2 separate regions of the Homo sapiens genome follow, and region 1 is linked to region 2. The links are contacts of gene promoters, found by promoter capture Hi-C in blood cells and fetal thymus (Javierre and others, 2016). All regions are on one chromosome and are shown on one strand. Each heading gives the region's core, a stretch centred on a gene start or on the middle of the fragment in contact. The rest is flanking DNA. Distances are from core to core; before and after follow the strand shown.

Region 1 (6,766 bases), core at 662-3,161, 120 kb before region 2:
GTAGCACCAGCCCAAGCAGCTCAGGGTAAAGAAACTTTTATCCAATTTACAAAGCATCCAAAAGGTAGAGTCAAAATTACACACTCAGACCAGGCGCGGTGGCTCACTTTGGGAGGCTGAGGCAGGAAGATCACTTGAGCCCAGTCTACATAACGAGATCCCGTCTCTACAAAAAAAATTTTTTTTTTTTTGAGATGGAGTCTCACTCTATCGCCCAGGCTGGAGTGCAGTGGCACCGATCTTGGCTCACTGCAACCTCTACCTTCCGGGTTCAAGTGATTCTCCTGCCTCAGCCACCAGAGTAGCTGGGATTACAGATATGCGCCACCACACCCAGCTGATTTTTAGTAGAGACAGGGGTTTCACCATGTTGGCCAGCTGGTCTTGAACTCCTGACCTCAGGTGATCCACCCGCCTCAGCCTCCCAAAGTGCTGGGATTACAGGCATGAGCCACCACACCCGGCCTATAAAAATTTTTTTTTAATTAACCAGGCATGGTGACACATTCCTTTGGTCCCAGCTACTTGGAGGCTGAGGTGGGAGGTTCGCTTGATCCCAGGAGATCAAGGCTGCAGTGAGCCATGATCGCACCACTGCACTGTAGCCTGGGAGGCAGAGCAAGACCTTGTCTCAGAAAAAAAAAATTTTTTAAATAAAATTACACACTCTGCAGCTATGGCCTTCATGCACAGGGTGATCACGTCTTGTTGTTCCCATTCTAGTTTACACAGGCCAAATAGCATCGTTCATTGTTTTGGAACACAAGTACATACCACATGTTCATCATGGTGGCATTTAAGATTTCAGGTAAGTTTTCTGAATGGTAGACAGGGAAGCCGAGAGTGGGAGGAAATGAGAGAATTGATTAGAGCCATAGTATCCATCTTGTAAATCTTTCATCTTTCTCTGCCCAAGTCTGGGGTGGGGTTAGGGGGGTAAGGAAAAGATTTAAAAGTTGCTCACCTGATAACAGGTCCCAAGAGGATTAGATGCATAAATAATGATAGCGGTTTATCTTTGGCTAGATCTCTGTGGACAAAAATGAGGGTCAACTGGACCATAATGGATGAAAACATAAAGAAAGAAAAGGTGTATGTCATCCAGTAAGTTTCACTATTCTTTCGATAGATTCTAACCATGTACAAAGCAGATGCAGCCTCCCCACAGTACAAAAAGGTGGAGAAAAGGATGCTAAATGGAAAAGTAAATCGGGGGTTGGCTCCACGGATGACATCTTCCTCCAGAGATGAAACCGGATCCACATTTGGCTCCTCAGGAATTTCATAAACTCTGTCCATTGTCGAGGTTCTTTCTGAATGTTGTGGTCTTGTGTTCATAGCACCCTCCCACCCATCCCCAAGAGAACCCTATGGCCGCTACAGTCCAAGTATAGGTGAGGAGAGCTCTGTCAAGTCCAGTTTGGGAACAGAGATTCACTAGTTAGAGCAAGAAACCGCTCTCTTCTAGACTCAGATTCGACTTGGAGTCTGGGATGGAAAGCCCAGGAGTACCACTTTGAACTTGACTCTTGATTGGCCCCGATTCCAATCGTCAACATACTTGCTGTGAAACTTGAACAAGACAAAAGCAAGCATCCCAGCGCCCCATCCAGAGTCCAACTCCAGGGACGTGAAGAGTCATGAGAACAGCGGCTTCCGTGGCGGCTCCTTTCGCAGCCCCTCAGGCAGGGTGTAGCCGATCTGTCGGGGGCACCGACACTCAGCAGCTCCTCACAAAGAGTCCTGACCAGTGTGTCCTCTCAAGTCAGCGGAGAGCTGAGCCAGGGCAGAAGAGCGGGCGCAGAAGAAGGAGGGCAGAAGAGGGGATTCAGTTCAGTGCCTAGGTATCCTAGCTATTGCTAGGCTGTAGCTATCAGCTGGCCCGCTCACCTGCGCGCTCTCAGGACCTTTGCCGAGTCCAGGGTTCTCAGGATAGCTCCTCGGATTCCCCCAAGCCCCGCCCCCAAGACCGCCTGGCCCGGGAGTGGAGTATTGTCACCACCCTGTCTCCGAATGCAGTGTTGAGGGACAGAAGCAGAGCGCGCTCGCTCTACAGGATGAAGAAAAGGCTGGAGGGGCTGCTTCTCCTCGGAGAAACTTTGCTAGTGAGAGGCACGATGTGCGGGGCGCCAACCTGGCTGGACGGAGGTCGCCAAACTCTTGGACGCCGTCTGCTGCCAGGGTCCTGCCTGGTCTGCGATTCCAGCTGCGAGAGGTCGGCAGCTTCAAAAACTAAGGCACCGGGACGGCGGGGGCGGGCGAGATGGGCGGGACGGCTGCGGCCAAACAAAACCAGCCGGAGAGTTCCCGGGCAGGCGGCCAGCCGAGGGATGCTCGTTGTGGAGTGGCGGGACAAAAAGGGGCTTGGGCCGCTCTTCAGAAGCACTTCTGACCACCACCTCCAGACCCAGGCAGGAGCCACAGCTTTACTCCTCCCTAGGAGCAGCAGGCCCCCACTTCTACCCCGCCCTCCCTAACTAGTTAAGTGACTTGCTTCAACACTCACTCTACCCACGCTGTTAGGCAGGTGTGTCTCCCTCCGCCGCAGGGTGGAACCTCCCTAGGTCCTATTGCCCTCCAGATAATATCATGAAGGGGGAACCTGGGAGGAATAGGGTCAGAGTTTTCGGCGGAGGGAAGATAGAACAGGATAAAGGTCAAGACTCAAGGTCAGCCCACAGACACTGAAAGCTCATATTTTATGCCTTGATTTCTCCACTTGCAAAATGAGGCCAGGATAGGAGCTTTAGAATGAACTTACAGGTCTTTGGTTGAAAGGTTATGAAGAGGTGCCAAATTCTAAACAGACTGGCAAAGAGCCAAGAGAGAGCTGTTAGTAAAAACTGAGAGGGGTGTCTTAAAGAGCTTTGAAAATTACCTGTATTCTTAAGTGTAATCCTCCCCACCTCACTGAGCTTTTGTTTTCATATCTTCATTTGCATAATTCTAAACCTCAGAGAAAAAGAGAACACATCTGCCTCCTGGTAATAATATAGATGAAGGCCAGGCACAGTGGTTCACGCCTGTAATCCCAGCACTTTGGGAGGCTGAGGCAGGCAGATCACTTGAGGTCAGGAGTTCGAAACCAGCCTGGCCAACGTGGTGAAACCCCATCTCTACTAAAAATACAAAAATCAGCTGGTCGTGGTGGTGCGTGACTGTAATCCCAGCTACTCAGGAGGCTGAGGCAGGAGAAAAACTTGAACCCGGACGGCAGAGGTTGCAGTGAGCTGAGATCACGCCACTGCACTCCAGCCTGGGCAACAGAGCAAGATTACGTCTTAATAATAATAATAATAATAATAATAATAATAATAATAATGATGATTATGTAGCAGAGCCTGTGCCAATCTCCTTTTGCTGCAGGAAGTCAGTAAAACAAATCTATGTGAGGAGTGGCCAAGTAGCAGCCACCAAAATAATGGCCTCCAGGTTGTCCTGTCATTATGTTGTTTTTTGTTTTTTTAAGGTTTCCATGATTGCTGCCTCCTTTCCCCAGGGCTGATTCAGGGACAGATTCAACATCTAAAGGTTGTCACCTTCTGAAGCAGACTCCGCATCTTGGTCTGCACCTATGCTAGCAGCTGGGCTAGGAGGCTGCTCCTTTCTCCTTTCCATTTCATGAAGGAGGTCAACACTATTGAGAACAACTTCAGAGAGTGTTCTTTTTCTTATTAGTTGGGACATTCCAACTGGGACAAGGTTCTCCACCACCAGTATATGGTGCAGAACCTCTTGGGGCTGCTCTAGGTAACTGTTCACAAGGTGAATCTCAGGCAAGGTGACCAATTAATCCCATTTCACTGGGATAGGGTGAGTTGGTCCCCCTAAACATGAGAGAGTCAGCCGGGCGCGGTAGCTCATGCCTGTAATCCCAGCATTTCGGGAGGCCAAGGTGGGTGAATGGCCTGAGATCAGGAGTTTGAGACCAGCCTGACCAACATGGTGAAATCCTGTCTCTACTAAAAATTCAAAAATTAGCTGGGCGTGGTGGTGGGCACCTGTAATCCCAGCTACTCGGGAGGCTGAGGCAGGACAACCCCTTGAACCCAGGAGGCAGAAGTTGCAGTGAGCCAAGATAGCACCATTGCACTCCAGCCTGGGTGACAAGAGTGAAACTCCATCTCAAAAAAATAAAAATTAAAAATAAAAAAAAAAAAAAACATGGGAGAGTAAAGCTAAGAAGAAGAATGTAGAATCCCAACGTTTACCTTTTAGCCTTTCCTCCTTCTTCTCCATGGCCTTGTCTCTCCCCAAATACAAAAATTTACAATGCCTTCCTACTTTGTTCCAAAATGACTCCTTCTGTCTGTCATTCAAGGCTCTATATAATCATCACACTACTTCCCTCTCAGATTTTATTGCCCACACTACTCCTTCCACAAGGCCAGCCAGTTTTCTCACTTCTCCTATTTGCGTTGCTCACTCCCACCTCTGCCTTGTTGATGCGATTTACAACCCCCTTCACCCTTTTCTCCATTAGTCCAAACCATAACTTTCTTTCAAGGGTCAGCCGAAGTGCTCCCACCTCCAAGAAGCCTTCTGTCACCTCCCCAACCCTCATTTTTCTCTCTTCATGCTACTGGCACATGCTCTCTCATACTAGTCCTTCAACTATTTCTGTGTTTGTCCTGCCTCCCCCCAAAAATGTAAAGTTAGTGAGGGAAGGATGCTCAATGACTGTTTATTGTGGCACTTGTTGATGACAATGGTGATTGACAAATGGTGATGATGATGACGCTTCCTCCCCCATACTTCCTCCTTGAAACCATGCAAGACTCAGACACACTCATCTCTAAAAGCTGTGGCCACTGTAGCTGGGGCATAAACTCCTCTGGCTGAATGAGCACTGTCTCATTCAGCCATCAGCTCACAGAGGTTCCCAGACCACATGATCTGTCCCTTCTCAAGGATTTCTATAGCATTCTTTTGTTTATACCAGAGTGTAGCACCAAAATTATTTCAAGTATATTAATTTTTATTCCCCAACTAAATTATCACGGGCTCCTTGAGGGCAGAGCCCTTATTACTGTACTTTTGTTGGACTCCCCCATGACTGGTATAGACCTGTAAAGTTCCTGTCATCTGATCACCCTCACCCACCAACTTCTCTATTTTCAGCCCTAGGATTCTCTGGCGCTTTAGGTCACTAAATCCTCTGGTCTCTTATTTCCCCGTTCCTTTGCCCTGCTGGGAGTAGCTAACTGAGAATTTGCTGTTTCTGTCCAAACACTCTTTGCTCTCTCAGGCCATCTCAAGATTCCAGCTCTTTACTCTTCTTGGGACTAAAGATGCTGGAAATGTTGGCAGTCATAAGGCTGCTGAGGCTCTAGGAACCCCTGTCCCATTAAAAGCACTGATCTCCCACAGACTAGTCATCTGAGGTGACACCTAGGCTGCCTCCTGAATGCCAGGTAGTGTTCAAGCATAAATTTCTCCTCCTGAGAAGCACTAGAATTCTGCAAGAAAGGGGAAGAACAAGATCTGACTCCTTACCACTCTATTTCCAACCACTGACTCAACAGGAACAAAGAGCGCATCTAAAAGCCATGTGGTCTAAAAGCTCTTGGCATCTTTATCAGCATTCAGAATCCCTCTATAAGGCTCAGGGATGGGGTTGAGCTTTCCAAGCCTCTGCAGCCTGAAGACTGCCCAAAAGCCTCCAAGGAATGGATGTGTAAGAGGTGCGTGGCATCCATGAGGAAAGAGGAGAGGAAGGACAGAGATGTGCAGCAAGTGGCTGACAGTCCAGTCACAGAACACTTATTGGTGGGAGGTGATGGGCAAGGCCCAGAGAATCAATAGCCAGAATGGAAGATGGCTTCCCTCTAAAGAATGCTCAGTTTGGGCTGTTAGAATGCTTAAAAGATATCTAGAGGCCAGGCATGGTGGCTCACACCTGTAATCCCAGCGCTTTGGGAGACTGAGGTGGGAGGATTGCTTGAGCCCAGGAGTTTGAGACCAACCTGGGCAACAAAGTGAGACCCTGTCTCTACAAAAAAGTAAAAACAAAATTAGCTGGGCATGGTGACACACACCTGTAGTCCTAGCTACTCTGGAGGCTGAAGTGGGGAGGATCGCTTGAGCCCGGGAGGTTGAAGCTGCAGTGAGTTGTGACTGTGCCACTGCACTCCAACCTGGGCAACAGAGCAACTCTGTCTCAAAAAAAAAAAAGAAAAAGAAAAAGAAAAAAAGCCAGGCGCAGTGGTTCACACCTGTTAATCCCAGCACTTTAGGAGGCCGAGGTGGGTAGATCACCTGAGGTCAGCAGTTCAAGACCAGACTGGGCAACATGGTGAAACCCCATTTCTACTAAAAATACAAAAATTAGCCAGGTGTGGTGGCACACATCTGTAATCCTAGCAACTCCGGAGGCTGAGGCACAAGAATCGCTTGAACCCAGGAGGTAGAGGTTGCAGTGAACCGAGATTGTGCCATTGCACTCCAACCTAGGTGATGGTGAGATTCCGTCTAAAAAAAAAAAAAAAAAAAAAACAGAATGCAAAATCAGTCGTATCATCTAGGTCTTATTTTTCTTTTTGCTATAAACTCCCTGAGAACAAAGACCCTTGCCTGTTAGTTCTGAGCCACTCCCTCATCAGTATCATCCATAGCTGGGATTTGGGCCTGGAGTTAAAACAGAAGTAACTTCCCTGCAGCCCTCACCCCTAGCATTTTTCTTCAACAAATCTGGTTAGAAATGACATCTAAATTAGTCTTGAAGGGAAAGAAGTGCTGCCACATAATGCAGCATGGCATTTGGGAT
Region 2 (6,584 bases), core at 3,835-6,334:
TTTGAGACCAGCCTGGACAACACAGTGAGACCCCGTCTCTACAAAAATTAAAATATTAGCCAGGCATGGTGGCATGCGCCTGTAGTCCCAGCTACTCGGGAGGCTGAGGTGGTAGCATCACTTGTGCCCAGGCAGCCATGATCATGCTCCAGCCTGGGTGACAAAGCAAGACCCTGTCTCGAAAAAAAAAAAAAAAAAGTACTTAGCAGAAGATTAGACAGGTATGTTTGTGAAACTCTGAGCAGAGTCCAACACCTGGCAAAATATCTTCAGTAAGCATTACTAGTAACTGTCATGACGTGTTTAAAGACAGTATTTAACTGAGTAGAGGTGGCAACACTGAAAGAGGGGAGTGGGAGAAGGAACAATGGGAGTAACTATGAGACAAAAGCTGGAAGAGCTAACATGGGTGACATTGAGAACACAAGTAGAGGGCCTCCCTTTGCAACACAGGACTCTATGTTATGTCTACATTGCTGTGAAAGCACCTGGTTTTTGTTTGTTTTAAAAATGAGATGGGGTTGGCCGGGCATGGTGGCTCACACCTGTAATCCCAGCACTTTGGGAGGCCAAGGTAGGCGGATCACCTGAGGTCAGGAGTTCGAGACCAGCCTAGCCAACATGGTGAAACCCCGTCTCTACTAAAAATACTAAAATTAGCCGGGCATGGTGGCAGGCACCTGTAATCCCACTACTCGGGAGGCTGAGGCAAGAGAACTGCTTGAACCTGGGAGGCAGAGATTGCAGTAGGCCAAGATTGCAACAGAGCAGAACTGGGCGACAGAGCGAGACTCCATCTTAAAAAAAAAAAACAGAGATGGGGTCTCGCTATGTTTTCCAGGCTGGTCTCAAACTCCTGGACTCAACCAATCCTCCTGTCTCGGCCTCCCAAAGTGCTGGAATTATAGGCATGAGCCACCATGCCCAGCCATAAGCACCTATTTTAAGTACTTGGGACACTTGAATGGACTTGGCCTGACATTCTGTTAACCTGCTGTGAAATTTGTATTTTGCCCTTAAGCTCTACCTTGGATTTCATCCCAATGTTAAGTCATAGCCTAATTCAGAATTTTACATTTATACACATACACACACACACACACACACACACACACACACACACACAGAGAAAATTATTGCTAAATTAACATTCCATGATCAATAAGCAACATGGAGGATGACGACATAGGTGCTGCAATATTTAGCCCATACACCATTTTGTATGATTACAAAGTACTAAAGAAAGTGACTGTCATAGCATGTGACATTTGGGGGATTTCAAATTTTTTACAGAATATACACTTAAGCTGGCCCAGAGTTCAGGTGTTAATGATAGCACTCTCCACTCAACACCCACCCCCATCAAGAAGCAACAAGACAGTACAGTTAAGAACACAGGCTTTGAAGCCATGTTCTTTGTTACCAAAAAAAAAAAAACAGTCTTACTTTGTCGCCCAGGCTGGAGTGCAGTGGCACATTCTTGGCTCACCGCAACCTCCGCTGCCTGTGTCAAGCCATTCTCCTGCCTCAGCCTCCCGCGTAGCTGGGATTACAGGCACCCCCCATTGCACCCAACTAATTTTTGTATTTTTAGTAGAGACGGGGGTCTCATCATGTTGGCCACCCTGGTCTCGAACTCCTGACCTCAAGTGATCCACCTGCCTCAGCATCCCAAAGTGTTGGCATTACAGGCATGAGCCACCACATTCGGCTGGAGCCATGTTCTAATCCCAGCTCTACTTCTCACTAGCTATGCGGTTTTAGGTAAGATATTAATACTTAAGTGCTATGAATCTCAGTGTCACCATCTATACAAATAGGACTGAGAACACCTATCTTTCACAGTTTTGGTGAGAATTAAAAGCATTCAAATATATGACATGTTCAGGACTGTGCTTAAGACAGCCAGTGCTCAACATGTGTCACTGCTCTTTCTTAGGCTCTGATTCAAAGCATATCACTTGGTTTCTTCATGCCTCAACATCTCCAACCTGCAAAACTGACAAGATGTAACAATGCATGCAAGTGCTGTGAGGATGAGTACAGTTTGTGGGAAATTTAAAAAACAACATACACACACATAGACACATAAATTTTCTGACCCTCTACATGAGTGCCTGCTGGAGTGTAGTGAGGTTATGGCCTGTGCTGGACTACCTGTTAATACTCTCAAAAGTGTGTGGCAGCCGGGTGCAGTGGCTTACAACTGTAACTCCCAGCACTTTGGGAGACCAAGGCAGGAGGATTGCTTAAGGCCAAGAGTTTGAGACCAGTCTGGGCAACATAGCGAGATCCGGTCTCTACAAAAAGTTTTAAAAATTAGCCAGGTGTGGTGGCACACACCTGTAGTCCTAGCTACTTAGGAGGCTGAGACAGAAGGATCACAAGTCCAGCAGTTGAAGGCTGCAGTGAGCTATGATTGTGCCATTGCATTCCAGCCCGGGAGGGAGACCCTGTCTCCAAAAAAAAAAAAAAAAAAAAAAAAAGCCAGGCGGGGTGGCTCAGGCCTGTAATCTCAGCACTTTGGGAGGCCAAGGAGGGTGGATCACTTGAGGTTAGGAGTTCGAGACCAGCCTGGCCAACACGGTGAAACCCTGTCTACCAAAAATATACAAAATTAGCTGGGTGTGGTGGCGCACGCCTATAATCCCAGCTACTCAGCAGGCTGAGGCAGGAGAATTGCTTGAACCCGGGCAGAGGTTAAAGTGAACCGAGATCATACCACTGCACTCCAGCCTGGGCAAGAGACTCCTTCTCAAAAAAAAAAAAAAAAGTGTGTGGCCTGTGAGAATGTACGTATTCGATATGGAGGATGGCAAAAGCCAGAGAAAGGAAATGAATGAAGAGGCAAGAGACATAAAGAATGACATGGTGGGTCTGAGAAGGCCAGTGGCCTTGAAGCCCAGACTACAGGGGAAGGGAGTAGAGCTGATCCAGGAGAGGGGTCCTGTCCCTCCAGTCAGCAGGAAAGTCAGGAGGAAGGAAACTGCAGGCCCATTTGAGGATTTGCAGAGGAGGGACAAGGAAGCTGGGGAATTTGAAGATAGCTATTCCCACCCCAACGACATTTAGACTTTTTTGTGAGTGTGTGGGTCCTCTCACTGGTGACTCTGCCATGACTGTAGTTCATTTGCCCTATACCCCAGCAGGAGGGTCCTTGTCCATCTAGGTCTCTTCCAAATTATCAAGTATGGTTTAAAACAGGACCTTATTATTTCAAGGTGCCAACCAGCCATCATTCTAGGTAAAGAGCCTGTCATATTTAGTAACTTCTGTGGTGAAATTTCTTTTTCAAGGCAGCACACTCATACTAGTCAAGGTGAGTTCTGTTTCTTTCTTAATGTCAGGGGAGACATTTGTTCACAGAAGAGACTATTTTCTTTTTATATTTTGTCCTGTTTTAAATAAGTGCTTGGGGCCAGGTGCGGTGGCTCACGCCTGCAATCCCAGCACTTTGGGAGGCCGAGGCTGACAGGTCACCTGAGCTCAGGAGTTTGAGACCAACCTGACCAACATGGAGAAACCCTGTCTATACTAAAAGTACAAAATTAGCCGGGTGTGGTGGCGCACGCCTGTAATCCCAGCTACTCGGGAGGCTGAGGCAGGAGAATCGCTTGAACCTGGGAGGCAGAGGTTGCGGTGAGGCGAGATCACACCATTGCACTCCAGCCTGGGCAACAAGAGTGAAACTCTGTCTCAAAAATAAAAATAAAAAATAAAAAATAAATGCTTGGGGGCCAGGCTCGGTGGCTCTCGCTTGTAATCCCAGCACTTTGGGAGGCCGAGGCAGCCGGATCACAAGGTCAGGAGTTCGAGAGCAGCCTGACCAACAGAGTGAAACCCAGTCTCTACTAAAAATACAAAAATTAGCTGGGCGTGGTGGCAGGCGCCTGTAATCCTAGCTACTCCAGAGGCTGAGGCAGGAGAATCACTTGAACCCGGGAGGCGGAGGTTGCAGTGAGCCGAGATCGCACCACTGCACTCCAGCCTGGGTGACAAAGCTAGACTCCGTCTCAAACAAATAAAAAATAAAAATGCTTGGGAGTTTTTTCCTCAGCAAAAAAAAAAAAAAGCGTGTGAGCAGTCGTGCTCGACTGTTCTATACCTGCCTCAGGAATTGATCAGGAAGAGTCCTGGAGTCCAGAGTAGCCCAAATAGGAAGGCAGGCTAACTCTCCTGTGCTCAGAGAGGTTCAAATCAAAGAGACTATGTGGTAGGTCTCACCTGCGCAGGGCCAAGGATCCCTTTTGGAGCAAAATGTTCACCCACCGACAAGGGTCCTGCTTGCACTCTCTGCTCACCCTTCCTTCAGCTGGACCGGCTCCAGACACTATTCCTTGCTAAACCAAACAAGCAAATGGGTTGACTGCTGTGTCGTGTCCCGAATGCAGCCCACAGGCAGTCAGGTCCTTGTCTCCCCAACAAGACTCCACTAGCCCTTCCATTCCCTTCTTCTTTAGGCAAGTTCTGCCCACTGTGTCTGTAGGAAGGGTTAACAAAGAGGAGACACTAGGAAAGGCTACCACTAAACTTGGCCGGTCTGCAGGGCCCGGGAAGGACAGAAAGTAAGGGAGTGGGAGGAGTTAGGGCACAGGCCCACGCTGGGCCGTACACGACCTTGCGCAGTCACCGTCGGGTCCCGTCTCCAGCCCCGCCTGCCTCCTCCATTCCCCGCCCCGCGGACAGTTTGGCATAGTAGGGAGTTTTCTGTAAAGCAAGGGTTAAATCAGGTTTTCCGGGCTATTTATCCACCTTACCTTCCTTCGTAACCAATAAATCCTCTTACAAACCTGAGGCGGCAAACTAAAAGGCCAGCGGATGGCCTGGTTTGCTGCGGCGGGGAAACAGTCACTTCCTGGTGCGCAAGGCGCCTCTACTCCCGCCGCACGCGCAGCCAACCCTTGGCAAGCGCGGCGGGACACGGGGCTCCTCCCAGCGTCGGCGAGGCAGCAGGCTCCGGCACCTCGACTCCTCTCGGGGAGTACCCCTCCCTACTTTGCTGGGGGAACCTTCTATGGAGACCTTCCTTAAAAGCACTCATAGCCCTGACACCCGCCGCCTTCCTTCTCTAAGTTCTCCTCTCCTCCCCTCCCCGGGGCCCCGCCCACCACCTGCTCTTTCCTCACCGTCCCATTGGTGGATCTACATAAGAGACTCACGAAGACGTTCACACTGCAGTGTTAACTGCGTTAGCCATCCCAGGGGTGCTTGCAGTTTAAGTCTTCCAACTCAAGGAATAGTTTTCTCATGATAGAATTGCAGACATCAGATCCCTAACGGGTTGGAAGATTGGGAGATGAGAAACAGGGTGGTTCCGTGAAATGGCATCCTTTGGTAAAAGCCAGATCTATTCTGGGCCGTGGGGTTTCTCAAGCATTCATTCTCTTTTAACACTGCATCAGAAAAATACTTTATAGTTTCTTCACTGGATCCCACTCAAGACTATTAAATCCTAAACCCTCAGAAATAATCTTTTTCTTCAACTACAGAACTCAAAAAGAGGACAGATGTCTCTTTTTGGTTGATTCACTACCTCCTGGACTACATTCAGTAATACCTCTAATTTTTAGAGGAGTCATTAGCCCAGCCACGAGTAAGAAAACTTGAAGTATACACACATCTGTGTGCTGTAAAATATTGTTGCTTTAATAGAGTAAAATTTACAGCAAAGTGAACCTACCGAGGTGGGTGCAGTGGCTCACGCCTGTAATCCCAGCAGTTTGGGAGGCCGAGGCGGAAGGATCACCTGAGGTCAGGGGTTCGAGACCAGCCTGACCAACATGGTGAAACCCCATCTCTACTAAAAATACAAAAATTAGCTAGGCGTGGTGGCGCACGCCTGTAATCCCAGCTGCTCAGGAGGCTGAGGCAGGAGAGTCACTCGAACCCAGGTGGTGGAGGTTGCAGTGAGCTGAGATCATGCCATTGCATTCCAGCCTGGGCAAAAAGAGTGAAACTCCGTTTCAAAAAAAAAAAATAGTGAACGTACATTTAATGATATTTAATTTTTATGCTTAATAGTAATTGTGCTCAAGTGGAAAACACTTTGTAGTCAACATTTCATGTATTAATATTTATTCAAAGCATAACATGCCTATTATGTGCAAGGCAATGTGTTAGCCTTAGTGAGTACAGTAGTAAATTAAACAAGGCCCAATACTTCAAATAGCAGCAAACATTGAGTCAGTCAGAATAGGATTCAAAGCCCAGATCTGCCACTTATTTTCTATTTTTCTGTTTTTTGAGACAGAGTTTTGCTCTTGTTGCCCAGGCTAGAGTGCAATGGTGTGATCTCGGCTCACCGCAACCTCCGCCTCCCAGGTTCAAGCGATTCTCCTGCCTCAGCCTCCCGAGTAGCTGGGATTACAGGAGTGCACCATCACGCCCAGCTAATTTTTGTATTTTTAGTAGAGATGGAGTTTCACCACGTCGGTCAGGCTGGTCTCGATCTCCTGACCTCAGGTGATCCGCCTGCCTCGGCCTCCCAAAGTGCTGGGATTACAGGCATAAGCCACCACCCCCAGCAGATCTGCCACTGATAAGCTGTGTCCACTGAGCAAGTTATTTAATTACTCAGTGCTTCA

The links. The method cuts DNA at HindIII sites, captures the fragments that hold promoters and counts their contacts. A CHiCAGO score of 5 or more calls a contact.
Region 1: the fragment with the promoter of XKRX here is called in contact with the fragment with the promoter of TRMT2B in region 2 in 5 of 17 cell types (total B cells, naive CD8 T cells, endothelial precursors and 2 more); the score reaches 5.8 in total B cells.

The regions. Positions count from the first base shown.
Region 1 is chrX:100,927,006-100,933,771 of GRCh38, forward strand. XKRX (XK related X-linked) reads right to left here and starts at 1,912. Exons shown (of 3, transcript NM_212559.3): 1 at 965-1,912. The coding sequence starts at 1,299. RefSeq lists enhancers at 116-1,315, 2,509-2,558. The HindIII fragment of the contact is 22,335 bases long and covers 1-6,766 here.
Region 2 is chrX:101,047,027-101,053,610 of GRCh38, forward strand. It overlaps TRMT2B (tRNA methyltransferase 2B), which reads right to left and starts at 5,085. Exons shown (of 14, transcript NM_024917.6): 1 at 4,791-5,085; 2 at 4,225-4,707. The HindIII fragment of the contact is 12,653 bases long and covers 1-6,584 here.